Linked DNA regions of Homo sapiens: region 1 is linked to region 2. The links are contacts of gene promoters, found by promoter capture Hi-C in human tissues and cell types (Jung and others, 2019). All regions are on one chromosome and are shown on one strand. The core of a region is centred on a gene start or on the middle of the fragment in contact, and the rest is flanking DNA. Distances in the headings are between cores, read along the strand shown.

Region 1 (6,543 bases), core at 2,680-5,179, 170 kb before region 2:
GGTATTGGGAAAAGTTTTCAATTAGCAATAATCGCGCCTCGGATAGACCTCATTGGCTACGATACTGCCACTGCGCAAAGCTAATTTGTTACGCCCCCTGCTCATCACTCCCAATAAACCAGCTTCCTATTTCGCAAAGGTGAGTTTAGGGCCTATGGAAAAATCTTCACTTATTGCTTGCTTGAAAATTATACAATCATAGAAAGATGTTTGTGACCTGCGTAGGTGGTTTCTGCATATCGTTGCTGATTTCACTTAGCTAGGTTTTTGTTGATATGAAGCAAAGCACTATGGGAGGAACATGCTAATAGACTTAATTCAGAGACTGCGAAGGGCTTTTGAGAGAAAAGGGATCAAAATCAGGGTTCTGTTCACTTGGCTCCAGATTCAGTGTAACAGACTTCTCCAAAGACGATTATTGTTTTGTCTTTTTTCTTTTTCAAACTTTTTTTTAAATTATGCCAAAGTATACATAAAATTTACCATTTTAACCTTAAGTGTAAATTCACTGGCATAGAATATGTTCACATTGTTGTGTAACCATCATCACTACTTACCTCCAGAACTTTATCTTTCATGCCCAAGGGTGGAAACTGAGACTCTGTACCCATTAAACCCTTACTCCCTGTTCCCTTCTCCTCCAGCCCCCGTGGCAACCTCTTTTCTACTTTCTATCTCTATGACTTTGTGAGTACTTTATATATATATAAATGGAATCATACAATATTTGTCCTTGAGGTCAGTCTTATTTCATTCAGAATAATGTTTTTAAGGTTCATCCATGTTGTAGTATATATCAGGAATTCATTAATTTTATGGCTGAATAATATTTCACTGTATGAGATGTTATCTTTTTTTTTTTTTGAGATGGAGTTTTTGCTCTTGTTGCCCAGGCTGGAGTGCAGTGGCATGATCTCGGCTCATTGCAACCACTGCCTCCCGGATTCAAGCGATTCTCCTGCCTCCATCTCTCAAGTAGCTGGGATTACAGATGCATGCCACCACTCTTTGTATTTTTAGTAGAGACAGGATTTCACCATGTTGGCCAGGCTGGTCTCAAACTCCTGACCTCACGTGATCTGCCTGCCTCGGCCTCCCAAAGTGCTGGAATTACAGGTGTGAGCCACTTCACCCAGCCCATTTATTCTTGTCTATTTTTTTTTTTGAGACGAAGTTTTGCTTTTGTTGCCCAGGCTGGAGCGCAATGGCGAGATCAACCTCCGCCTCCCAGGTTCAAGCGATTCTCCTGCCTCAGCCTCCCGAGGAGCTGGGATTATTTTTAGTAGACACGGGGTTTCACCATGTTGGTCAGGCTGGTCTTGAACTCCTGGCCTCAGGTGATCCACCCGCCTTGGTTTCCCAAAGTGCTGGGATTACAGCCGTGAGCCACCGCGCCCGGTCCCATTCATTCTTTTTTGAGACAGCTTTTGGCTCTGTCGCCCAGGCTGGAATGCAGTGGCGCGATCTCAGCTCACTTCAACCTCTGCTTCCAGGCCTCAAGTGATCCTCCTCCCACTTCAGCTGGATACTTTCTGTATTTTTCGTACAGACAGGATCTCACCATGTTGCCCAGGCTGGTCTCGAACTCCTGGGCCCAAGTGATCCTCCCATCTTGGCCTCCCAAAGTGCTGGGACTATAGGCATGAGCTGCCGCCCGGACCAACTGTTTATCCTTTTTTTTTTTTTTTTTGAGGGGGAGTCTCGCTCTGTTGCCCAAGCTGGAGTACATAGACTCAATCTCAGCCCATGCAACCTCCGCCTCTGGGGTTCAAGCAGTTCTCCTGTCTCAGCCTCCCGAGTAACTAACTGGGATTACAGGTGCGTGCCACCAATCCTGGCTAATTTTTGTATTTTTAGTAGAGACAGGGTTTCACCATGTTGGCCAGGCTGGTCTCAAGCTCCTGACCTCAAGTGATCCTCCTGCCTCAGCCTCCCAAAGTGCTGAGCCACGGCGCCCGGCCTATCCATTTATTTTTAGATGGTCATTGCTGGTTTCCACCTTTTGTCTATGGGAATAATGCTGCTATTGGTGTGCAAATATCAGCTTAAGTTTCTGTTTTCCTTTTTTTTTTTTTTGAGACTGAGTTTCGCTCTTGTTGCGCAGTCTGGACTGCAAAGGCGCAATCTCAGCTCACCACAACCTCTGCCTCCTGGGTTCAGGTGATTCTCCTGCCTCAGCCTCCCAAGTAGCTGGGATGACAGGTATGCGCCACCATGCCTGGCTAATTTTATATATATATATGTATAAATATATATATAGATAATTTTTTTTTTTTTTTTTTTTTTAGTAGAGACGGGGTTTCTCCATGTTGGTCAGGCTGGTCTTGAACTCCTGACCTCAAGTGATCTGCCTGCCTCGGCCTCCCAAAGTGCTGGGATTACAGGTGTGAGCCACCGCGCCTGGCCCCTGTTTTCTATTCTTTGGTGTACATACCTAGAAGTAAAATTGCTGGATCATATGTTAATTCAAAAGGGTTTGGACACCTTAATTCAAAAAGAGGCTCAAATAATAAGGATTTATTTCCACAGAATGTTCACAGTTTCTAAAATTTGAAGCAACTTTCACCCTCACTGCCTGTTTTCCTTCAGGATGTAGAAAGCTATTAGAAACCTACATCTGGTCTAGGTGTGGTGGCTCGAGCGTGTAATCCCAACGCTTTGGGAGGCCAAGGCAGGTGGATCACCTGAGGTCAGGAGTTCAAGATCAGCCTGGTAACATGGCGACATCCCTGTAAATACAAAATACAAAAATACAAAATTACAAAAATACAAAATACAAAAATTAACGGGGCGTGGTGGCGCTTGCCTGTAATCCCAGCTACTAGGGGGGCTGAGGCAGGAGGATCGCTTGAACCTGGGAGGTAGAGGTTGCCATGAGCTGAGATCATGCCACTGTAATCCAGCCTGGGTGACAAAGCGAGACTCCGTCTCAAAAAAAAAAAAAAAAAAAAAAAAAAAGAAAGTAACATTTCCCCCAACATTTTATCATAAAAAATTGTAAACACGAAAAGTTCAAAGAATTCCTCAGTGAACATTCATGTACTCATCATCCATATACAAAAATGACATTTTTTTTTTTTGAGACGGAGTCTCGCTCTGTCGCCCAGGCTGGAGTGCAGTGGCGCAATCTCGGCTCACTGCGAGCTCCGCCTTCCGGGTTCACGCCATTCTCCTGCCTCAGCCTCCCGAGTAGCTGGGACTACAGGCGCCCGCCACCACGGCCGGCTAATTTTTTCTATTTTTAGTAGAGATGGGGTTTCACCGTGTTAGCCAGGATGGTCAAAAACGACATTTTAAAAGGCCTGTTTGATGCTGATGTGTTATGTGATTATTTCTAACTTGTTTTGTGTTTTTTTTTTTGTTTTTTTTTTTTTGAGACATGTTCTCAGTCGCTTAGGTTGGAGCGCAGGGGTGCAATCACGGCTCAGTGCAGCCTAAATCTCCTGGGCTCAAGCGATCTTCCCACCTCAGCCTCCCAGGTAGCTGGGACTACAGGCACACACCACCATGCCCAGCTAATTTTTCTGTATTTTTTGTAGATACAGGGTTTCACCATGTTGCCCATGCTGGTCTCCAGCTCCTGGGCTCAAGTGATCCGCCCGCCTCGGCCTCCCCAAGGGGAGGGATTACAGGCATGAGCCACTGCAGCAGATTTCTTATTTAATTCACAGCCTGGATAAAAAGAAAAGACTAGCAATGTGGTGAATTTAGATTCTTTTACTTTGATCATCCAGTCAAGGATTTAGTCATTAATTCTGGATGGGGTGGAGTTGTGAGAAAAACACTAGGCCAGGCACGGTGGCTCACGCCTGTAATCCCAGCACTTTGGGAGGCCGAGGCGGGTGGATCACAAGGTCAGGAGTTCAAGACCAGCCTGGCCAAGATGGTGAAACCTCGTCTCTACTAAAAATACAAAAATTAGCTGGGCATGGTGGCGGGCGCCTATAATCCCAGCTACTTGGGAGGCTGACATAGGAGAATCACTTGAACCCGGTAGGCGGAGGTTGCAGTGAGCCTAGATTGCGCCACTGCACTCCAGCCTGGGCGATAGAGCGAGACTCCGTCTCAAAATAAATAAATACATACATACATACATACATACATACATAAAATAAAATAAATAAATAATGGGGCTTGGTGTGGTGGCTCACGCCTGTAATCAAAAAAAAAAAAAAAAAAAAAAAAAGAGAGAGAGAAAAAGACTAAAGCCCTAATCCTAATCCCATGAGGGTATCAAAGGAACTTCCTAGCCCTTGAGAATTCTAGAATGGGTGGCCCATTACACTCTCTCAGTAGCTATCAAGTGAAATTGTGTGTTTCACCAGCTGACTTGGATGACAAAAAAAAAAAGAAATAGAAACAAAGCATACAAAAATTAAAAAAGAAAGAAAGAAAGAAAGAAAAAACAAAACAAAACAAAAAAGACTTGGATGACTTCACCGTCCAGGGATGATTTTCCAGCACTATGAGAAAAATTGAAAACTCAGCTAACTTTTCCTCAGAGCATGAGATTTTTGGGGGCCTAGAAGCACAATAGAATTCCCAACCAATCTCTATTAGTGATGATCATTCCACTTGGAGAACTGAAAAAATAACCTAGGTTTGAACTTTTTCATAGTAAAATTGGTGAATGGGGAAGGAGAATGTCACTGTTCTCACATTTTTAAAAGTTATGATCAAATACCCAGAAAATGTGTGCAGAAAATGTGCTGGATTATAATTTTTAAATTTTGGGGGGGATTATAATTTTTTTGACAACGAAAATTTCAGTCTAGCTTCTGGTGCTTTCTTTCAGCAGATGTGGTCAGGTTAACTAATGCAGAAAGGGCTGTCAGTGGCTGGAGTGCAGTCACAGGATCATGGCTCACTGCAGCCTTGAAAAAAAAAGGGGGTGGCCGGGCGCAGTGGCTCACACCTGTAATCCCAGATACTGGGGAGGCTGAGGCAGGAGAATCACTTGAACCCGGGAGGCGGAGGTTGCGGTGAGCCAAGATGGCGCCATTGCACTCCAGCCTGGTCAACAAGAGTGAAACTCCATCTCAAAAAAAAAAAAAAAAAAAAAAAAAAGGAGGGGGCTGTCATATGAGTTTCCCCGCCTAGTAGATCCTACAGCTACTGACTTTCGCTGTTGCTGGAGCTACTACTCCCTGTGTACTAAGTTAAAAAGAATCGGCCAGGCGCAGTAGCTCACGCCCGTAATCACAACACTTTGGAAAGCCTAGAGCCCAGGAGTTCGAGACCAGCCTGGGCAACATGGTGAAACCCCGTCTCTACAAAAAAATACAAAAATTAGCTGGGCTTGGTGGCCCACCTGTAGTCCCAGCTACTCAGGAGGCTGAGGTGGGAGGATGGTTTGAGTCCAAGAGGTTGAGGCTGTAGTGCGCAGTGATCGTGCCTCTGAACTCCCGCCTGGGTGAAAGAGTGAGACCATGTCCCCAAAATAAAAAAATAAGCTTTTAAATAATTAAAGTGGCAGGGCGCAGTGGCTCATGCCTGTAATTCCAGCACTTTGGGAGGCTGAGGCGGGCGGATCGCGAGGTCAGGAGTTCGAGACCATGCTGACAAGCATGGTGAAACCCCGTCTCTACTAAAAATACAAAAATTAGCCGGGCATGGTGGCGGGCACCCGTAATCCCAGCTACTCGGGAGGCTGAGGCAGGAGAATCACTTGAACCCGGGAGGCGGAGGTTGCAGTGATCTGAGATCGTGCCACTGCACTCCAGCCTGGGCACAGAGCAATATTCCGTCTCAAAAAATAAATAAATAAATAAATAAATAAATAAATAAATAGCCGGGCGCGGTGGCTCACGCCTGTAATCCCAGTACTTTGGGAGGCTGAGGCGGGCGGATCACGAGGTCAAGAGATAGAGACCATCCTGGCTAACACGGTGAAACCCCGTCTCTACTAAAAAAAAAATACAAAAAATTAGCCGGGTGTGGTGGCGGGCGCCTGTAGTCCGGAGGCTGAGGCAGGAGAATCGCGTGAACCCGGGAGGCGGAGCTTGTAGTGGGCCGAGATCTCTCCACTACACTCCAGCCTGGGCGACAGAGCGAGACTCCGTCTCAAAAATAAATAAATAAATAAATAAATACAATAATAATAATAATAAAAGTGGCGGGGTGCAGTGGCTCACTCCTGTAATCCTAGCATTTTAGGAGACTGAGGCAGGTGGGTCACCTGAGGTCACGAGTTCAAAACCAGCCTGGCCAACATGACGAAACCCCATCTCTACTAAAAATACAAAAATTAGCCGGGCGCAGTGGCGAGCGCCTGTAATCCTAGCTACTCCGGAGGCCGAGGCAGCAGAATCACTTCAGCCGGGAAGGCAGAGGCTTCAGTGAGTGAAGATCGCGCCACTGCACTCCAGCCTGGGCAACAGAGCTAGACTCTCTCAAAAAAAAAAAAAAAAAATTAAAGTTAGTTTTACTTACAAGTCTTACTGAGGATTACAGACCGAGGGCTATAGTGTGGGAGCAGTTCCATCAGACTGGTCCAACACAGAATTTCAGCCACTCATATACAAGTGGTGAGTGTACGGCGCC
Region 2 (6,450 bases), core at 3,095-5,594:
ACAAGAAATATGGTTATGTTCTTCCAAGGCTGCACTCCCAGCGCAATTTCATTTGCAGGATACTTTCCTCATTGGCAATCCAGGGCAAGGCTTCACACAGGCTATTGAAAAGAAAGCCCCCGTGTCCCATGCACTGAAGAATAACAGCTATCATTTCTTGGAAGACAGACTCTGTGTTAAGTATTTTACATGTATCATCTCATTCTGTTTGAAAGGAACATACCTGAAACAAGAACTCGGAAATCAGATCTTCTTGTAGGAGGCCCATTCCTCCCACCACGGGGCCACCCACCCCGACCTCCATAAGTCCTGGGGAACTCCACACGAAGCCGACACTGGCCATAATCATAACCATTTCTTCCATAAATAGCATCCTCTGCATCTCTAAAAAAAACAACAACAACAAAAAAAACGTTTGGAGTTAGTGCTGTTCAGGAGGCCAAGTGACTTTCCAAGTGAGGGGCATGAGTAGTAAGCATAAAAGGGAAACCTAGAGTGAAGAAAAAAACACACAAATCAGGATCCTGAAGCACTTCTGCTTTGGTTTGGAGACGTTTCATGATACTGGAATTAACCTTTACAGCTGTCACACGCAGTTTTAGAGGTATGAAATTATAATGAATGAGCAAACAGATTACTCATAAGAGGGCTAATTCAGAGAAAAAAAAGAATCAACTGCTGACAGATTATTGATTTTGCCAATAAACCATCAGTGTTTTTCTAATCTTCGTGAGCATTTTCTCGAAAAGCACACCACACACTAACCCCTTAATATTTTTCTACAAAGCCTAGTGCCATAAAGTCTATGGAAATAAAAAGTAGGCGGTTAGCCAGGCATGGTGTTGCACGCCTGTAGTCCCAGCTACTTGAGAGGCTGAGATGGGAGTGCAGAGCCAAGATCACACTACTGTACTCCAGCCTGGGTGACAGAGACCCTGTCCCAAAAAACAGGAAAAAAAAAGTAGCCAGTTAGATAGGAGAGTATTTGAGGGTAAATAAAGTAGCTGGGCATGATGTTTGAGCCCAGGTCAGGCCAGCCTGGGTAATATAGTGAGACCCGGTCTTTTAAAAAAATAAATAAATAAGGCTCAAAGGACAAAAGAAAAATGCAAATGAGTGTTTTGTGATGAATGTGGAACTTTTTTTTTTTTTGAAACGGGGTCTTGCTCTGTCACCAAGGCTGAGTGCAGTGGCTGGAGCATAACTCACAGCAGCTTCTAACTCTTGGGCGCAAGCAATCCTCCCACCTCAGCCTCCTGAATAGCTAGGGCCACAGGCGTGTACCACTGCACCCAGCTAATTTTTGGATTTTTTGTAGAGACAGGTCTCCCTCTGCTGGCCAGCCTGGTCTTGAACTCCTGGGCTCAGGCGATCCTTCCCCTCAGTCTCCCAAAGTGCTAGGATTACAGGCATAAGCCACTGCGCCTGGCCTTGGAACTCTAAGTGTACCTTTTCAGCATGGTTTGGAGAACTATTTTTGTCAAAAAACATTCTTTGGATACAATTTTGCCAAAAGAGATAAATATTCAATAAAATTACTTTAAGTCTTTCCTAGGACTCTAGGAGAGTCAGGAATGCCACGTTGATTCTCCAGTATTGGATGGTAGAAAGTGTGACCTTGGAGCTTGGGTGGACAAGAGGAGCTGAATGTGCTAATGAAGGCATTGTTCAGTGTCACAGGCACATAATCACTTGTAAGATTTTAGAACTAAAAGCAACAATGACCATATCCAGTGCAACCTTGACTACGTAAAATGCAGACTGGGAGAGGCAGAACTGCTAGGAGGTCAGAACAACTCTGAATAAAAACTGGCCAGCATTCAGGCCAGGCGCTGTGGCACATGCCTGTAATCCCAGCACTTTGGGAGGTGGATCACTTGAGGTTAGCAGCTTGAGACCAGTCTGGGCAACCTGGTGAAACCCCTCGTCTCTACTAAAAAGATAAAAATTAGCTGGGCATGGCATCGCGCAGCTGTAATCCCAGCTACTCAGGAGGCTGAGGCACGAGAATCTCTTGAACCCAGGAGGCGAAGGTTGCAGTGAGCTGAGACTGTGCCGCTACACTCCAGCCTGCACGACAGAGCCAGACTCCATCTCAATAAATACAATAAATAAATAAAATTAGCCTGCATTCAAATCACTATTCTGCAAATTACTAGTAGTCATCTCTGGGTAAGTGTTTAATCAAGTTTTTACATCTCTAATGTGAACAGTATGCCTATCTCACAGGGTTATTGTAATGGTTAAATAAGATACTACATGAAATGCTTTGCTTGAATCTTCACATCTAGTGACACCAAAAGATAGTTTTTCTATTATGAAAGGAATGAGGGAAGATGACAATGTAGCGTATCATATAGTAAGTTTGCATTCGAAAAACAGAAGAGGGAGTTCAAATCCATTGATCCCGGCCTGGCGTGGTGGCTCAGGCCTGTAACCTCAGCATTTTGGGAGGCTGAGGTGGGTGGATCACTTGAGGTTAGGAGTTCAAGACAAACCTGGCCAACATGGAGAAACCCCGTATCTGCTGAACATAGAAAAATCAGCCAGGCATGATGGCGGGCGCCTGTAATCCCAGCTACTGGGAAGCTGAAGCGGGAGAATCGCTTGAACTCAGGTGGCGGAGGTTGCGGTGGGCCGGGATCGCACCACAGCACTCCAGCCTGGGCAACAAGAGTGAAGACCTGTCTCAAAAAAAAAAAAAAAATAGTACCTACACCTCATAAATTGTTAAAAATACTAAATACAGGCTGGGCGGGTTGCTCACGCCTGTAATCCTAACAATTTGATCCGCTGAGACGGGAGAATCACCTGAGCTCAGGAGTTCCAGACCAGCCTGAGCAACATGGTGAAACCCCTAATTTATCAATCTAAAAAAATAAGAAGGAAAGAAAAAAAGCTAAATACACACCATGGCACTTGACCCATAGCAACTGTTGAAAAACCACAATGGCACGGTTACTAAATAAGCGAGGCATAGCCTTCTCCGGCTTAGGGGTAAAAATGCCCAGTTCCGGTTTTGAGGCAAATGAGGAGATACTAGGGATGAGCTGTCAGAGTCGACTCTTCAGCCATCAACGCCTCGCGGTGCTTCCTGCCTGCCCTTCCTCAGATGCTCCCCTTGCCCTATCAATACGTCCACCCCAGGTAGGTCGGACACCCTACGAACATTCCGCGTTCCCCGGGAGCAAATGATGCTAGGAAAACAGGGTGCGGGCTCTTATTTGGCCGGAGTGGAGTGACCAGGTCAGCGCCGCAGCTGCTAACCACCACCAACCACAGTTTTGAAAGTTCCTGGGCTTTTTCCGGCCTGAGGGCCGACGCTGTTTGCAAAATCACAAGCACTCCTTAGAGCGGGGTTAGGAATCTAGAGTTTCCAAATCCCTGGAACCTTTAGCATCTCGCCAAGCCTCCCTCATCAAAGGAGGGAAGTGAAATCAGAGCCCCACTCCGGCTGTTTTAGAAGTTTTCCCGAATCCGTGATCCCTTTACAAAGCCCGGGCCCTGGCCTGCGGGGCGGGGCGCGCGAACGGCGAGCTATTCCACCAGAGATCCCTCCACGACCTCCAGCGGCATCCGCGACCCTGCAGCTTGCTCTCCAGCCACGGCGAGCACGGGCCGGGGGAGAGGCGAGCGGGAAGGGCGAACGGCGACCCCCGCGCTGCCCCGCGGCCGCTTCCCCCTACGGTGCTGCCCCAGGCAGGAGGCGGACAAGGCTCATTTGGACCCCCCGAGGCCGGTGCAGGCGGGCTTGGGCCCTCCAAAGGCTCAGCTTTTGGGTTTCTAAGTAAAATATTGGAATAATAAAAATAAAGGAAGTGACGACGGCGCGAAGGACGGCCCGGGCCTGCGAGGAGAGGCTGCCTCATCCTCCACCCGTGAGGGGGCGCCGTGAGGGGTCTGCGCGGAGGCGGGGGGAGGGGAGGCCGGGGGGAGGGGAGCCCTGGGGGAGGGGACAGCAGGGAAGGCGGGGGCCTCAGGCACCGAGGAGGAGAGGGCAGGGGCGCGGGGGCCTCACCGGGGGTCCTCGAAGCGCACGAAGGCGAAGGGCACGAGGCCGTGCCGGTTCTTGAGCTCGATCTCGCGGATGCGGCCGTACTTGTAGAACAGGTCCTCCAAGTCCTTCTCGCGCACGTCGGTCGGAAGGTTCCCCACGTAGATGCGCCCGTCGCCCTCGCCGCCGCGCTCGTCCGCCCAGCCCGACATCCGCACCGCCCGACGCCGCGGGCCCGCCGCAGCCCACGTCGCCGCCGCCGCCTCAGCACGGGTCCCCCCGCAGCGTCCCCGCGGGCTCCGAGGCGCTCAGCCGCACTGCATTGTGGGAACGCGGAGCGGAAGCGAAGGGGTCGGCGGAGGCAAAAGGAGTCCTCTTAAAGAGAACGCGGCTGCGACCATTGCGCGTGCGCGCAGGCCGGCGCCCCCTGGAGGTGCGAAGGGCCTTCGGGCGCTGACAGGGAGAGCCTGGGGCCGGGCCGTGTGGATGCCATCCCCGAGCGCGGTTCGCGCTCGGCTGAGGCGCTGGACAAGTGGCTTGGGCTCCCGCGCCTCAGTTTCTCTCTGTGGCGCCGCCTACCTCACAGACTTGTGAGCACTCACTGACGTGGGTAGCGCCCAGGGCCTGCGGGGCGCAGGAGAGCTGGAGTCAGGCGGAGACCGCAGGCTGACCCCGCAGCGGCCGGGCTGTCGCGGCCCCCACCTCAGGTCAGTAGGCCCCCGGGCCACCCTGTCCCCATTTTACAGTTGCTCAGAACTGACGGTGTCAGCATGAGATGGACTCCATAGCTTGGCCTTGAGTTTGTCGGAGTCGAGGGAGTAAGACTCTTAATGAGTATCACAGCGATCACTATAGAGTGCATCCGACTTGTGCTTTTCATCCTCTCCCGGGCAGAGTCTGAGGCCACAGAGGGGTCAGGAATGGAACCCAGAGCCATGCTCCCATCCTAAGTACTGAGTCCTTATGGAGCTCAGGTAGACACCCACCTTGGCACTTACTTTTCCACATTCACATCCCAGAACGCGGAGCATTGAACCCAGGGACCTTACAGTGAGGCCTTGCACCAGAAGACTTTTTGTTTGTTTTTGATACAGGGTCTTATTCTGTTGCTCAGGCTGGAGTGCAATGGCGCGAACACGGCTCACTGCAGTCTCGATCTCGCTGGACTCAGGTGATCCTCCCACCTCGGGGCGCCGTGAGGGGTCTGCGCTGCGTCCAGCTAGTTTATTTTCTATTTTTTTTGTAGAGAGGCTGGTCTCGAACTCCTGGGCTCAACCGATCCTCCAGCCTTGGCCTCCCAAAGTGTTGGATTACCGGCTTGAGCCCGGCGCCCGGCTGGAATACTCCTAACCTAAAGATTGTTCAGGCTGGGTGCGGTGGCTCACGCCTGTAATCCCAACACTTTGAGAGGCCAAGGCGGGAGGATCACTTGAGGTCAGTAGTTCGAGACTAGCCTGGGCAACATGGGGAAACCCCGTTTCTACTAAAAATACAAAAATTAGCTGGGCGTGGTGGCGTGTTCCTATAATCCCAGTTACGCGGGAGGCTGAGGCAGGAGAATTGCTTGAGCCCGGGAGGCGAAGGTTGCAGTGAGCCGAGATCATGCCACTGCACTTCAGCCTGGGTGACAGAGTGAGACTGTCTCAAAAATAAATAAAGATTTTTCATATTAAAAATGAAACCTGGCTGGGCGTGGTGGCTCATGCCTGTAATCCCAGCACTTTAGGAGGCTGAGGTGGGTGGATCACTTGAGGCCAGGAGTTCAAGACCAGCCTGGCCAACATGGCAAGACCCGCCCCCCTACTAAAAATACAAAAAAAAAAAAAAATTAGCCAAGCTTGGTGGCACGCCTGTAGTCCCAGCTGCTTGGGAGGATGAGGCACGAGAATCGCTTGAATCTGGGAGGCAGAGGTTGCAGTGAGCCGAGATTGTGCCACTGCACTCCTCCAGCCTGGGTGACAGAGGGAGACTCTGTCTCAAAAACAAGACAAAACAAAAACAAACAAAAAAAGGGACTAAAACCACACATTTAATCAGAAGGTAGTTGATTTCTCATTATACCATCTGAGCATTTTAAAATCAAAACAAACCAAAGACTAGACACCCACATATACTACTGAGTGTATATCTTTTTTGGAATACAAGTTGATAGTATACATCAGGCTTTCATAATATACATATACCCTTCGATCTTGTAATTCTGCTTGTAGGATTTTTTGTTTGTTTGTTTTGAGACGGAGTCTTACACTGTCACCCAGGCTGCAGTGCAGTGGCGTGATCTCGGCTCACTGCAAGCTCCGCCTCCCAGGTTCATGCCATTCTCCCGCCTCAGCCTCCTGAGTAGCTGGGACTACAGGTGCCTGCCACCACGCCCGGCTGATTTTTTTATATTTTTAGTAGAGACAGGGTTTCACCGTGTTAGCCAGGATGATCTCAATCTCCTGACCTCGTGATCC

The links. Contacts are between HindIII fragments. The study calls those that stand out against the background at their distance.
Region 1: a contact is called between a fragment that was not itself captured here and the fragment with the promoter of SRSF9 in region 2, in 1 of the 25 tissues and cell types used here (dorsolateral prefrontal cortex).

The regions. Positions count from the first base shown.
Region 1 is chr12:120,293,156-120,299,698 of GRCh38, forward strand. RNU4-1 (RNA, U4 small nuclear 1) reads right to left here and starts at 82; the gene lies at 1-82. It also overlaps a transcript of SIRT4 not described here. RefSeq lists an enhancer at 1-726 and a silencer at 1-72. The HindIII fragment of the contact is 8,404 bases long and covers 1-6,543 here.
Region 2 is chr12:120,465,404-120,471,853 of GRCh38, forward strand. SRSF9 (serine and arginine rich splicing factor 9) reads right to left here and starts at 4,345. Exons shown (of 4, transcript NM_003769.3): 1 at 4,019-4,345; 2 at 224-384. The coding sequence starts at 4,206. It also overlaps a transcript of DYNLL1 not described here. RefSeq lists silencers at 3,584-3,753, 4,004-4,303. The HindIII fragment of the contact is 11,710 bases long and covers 1-6,312 here.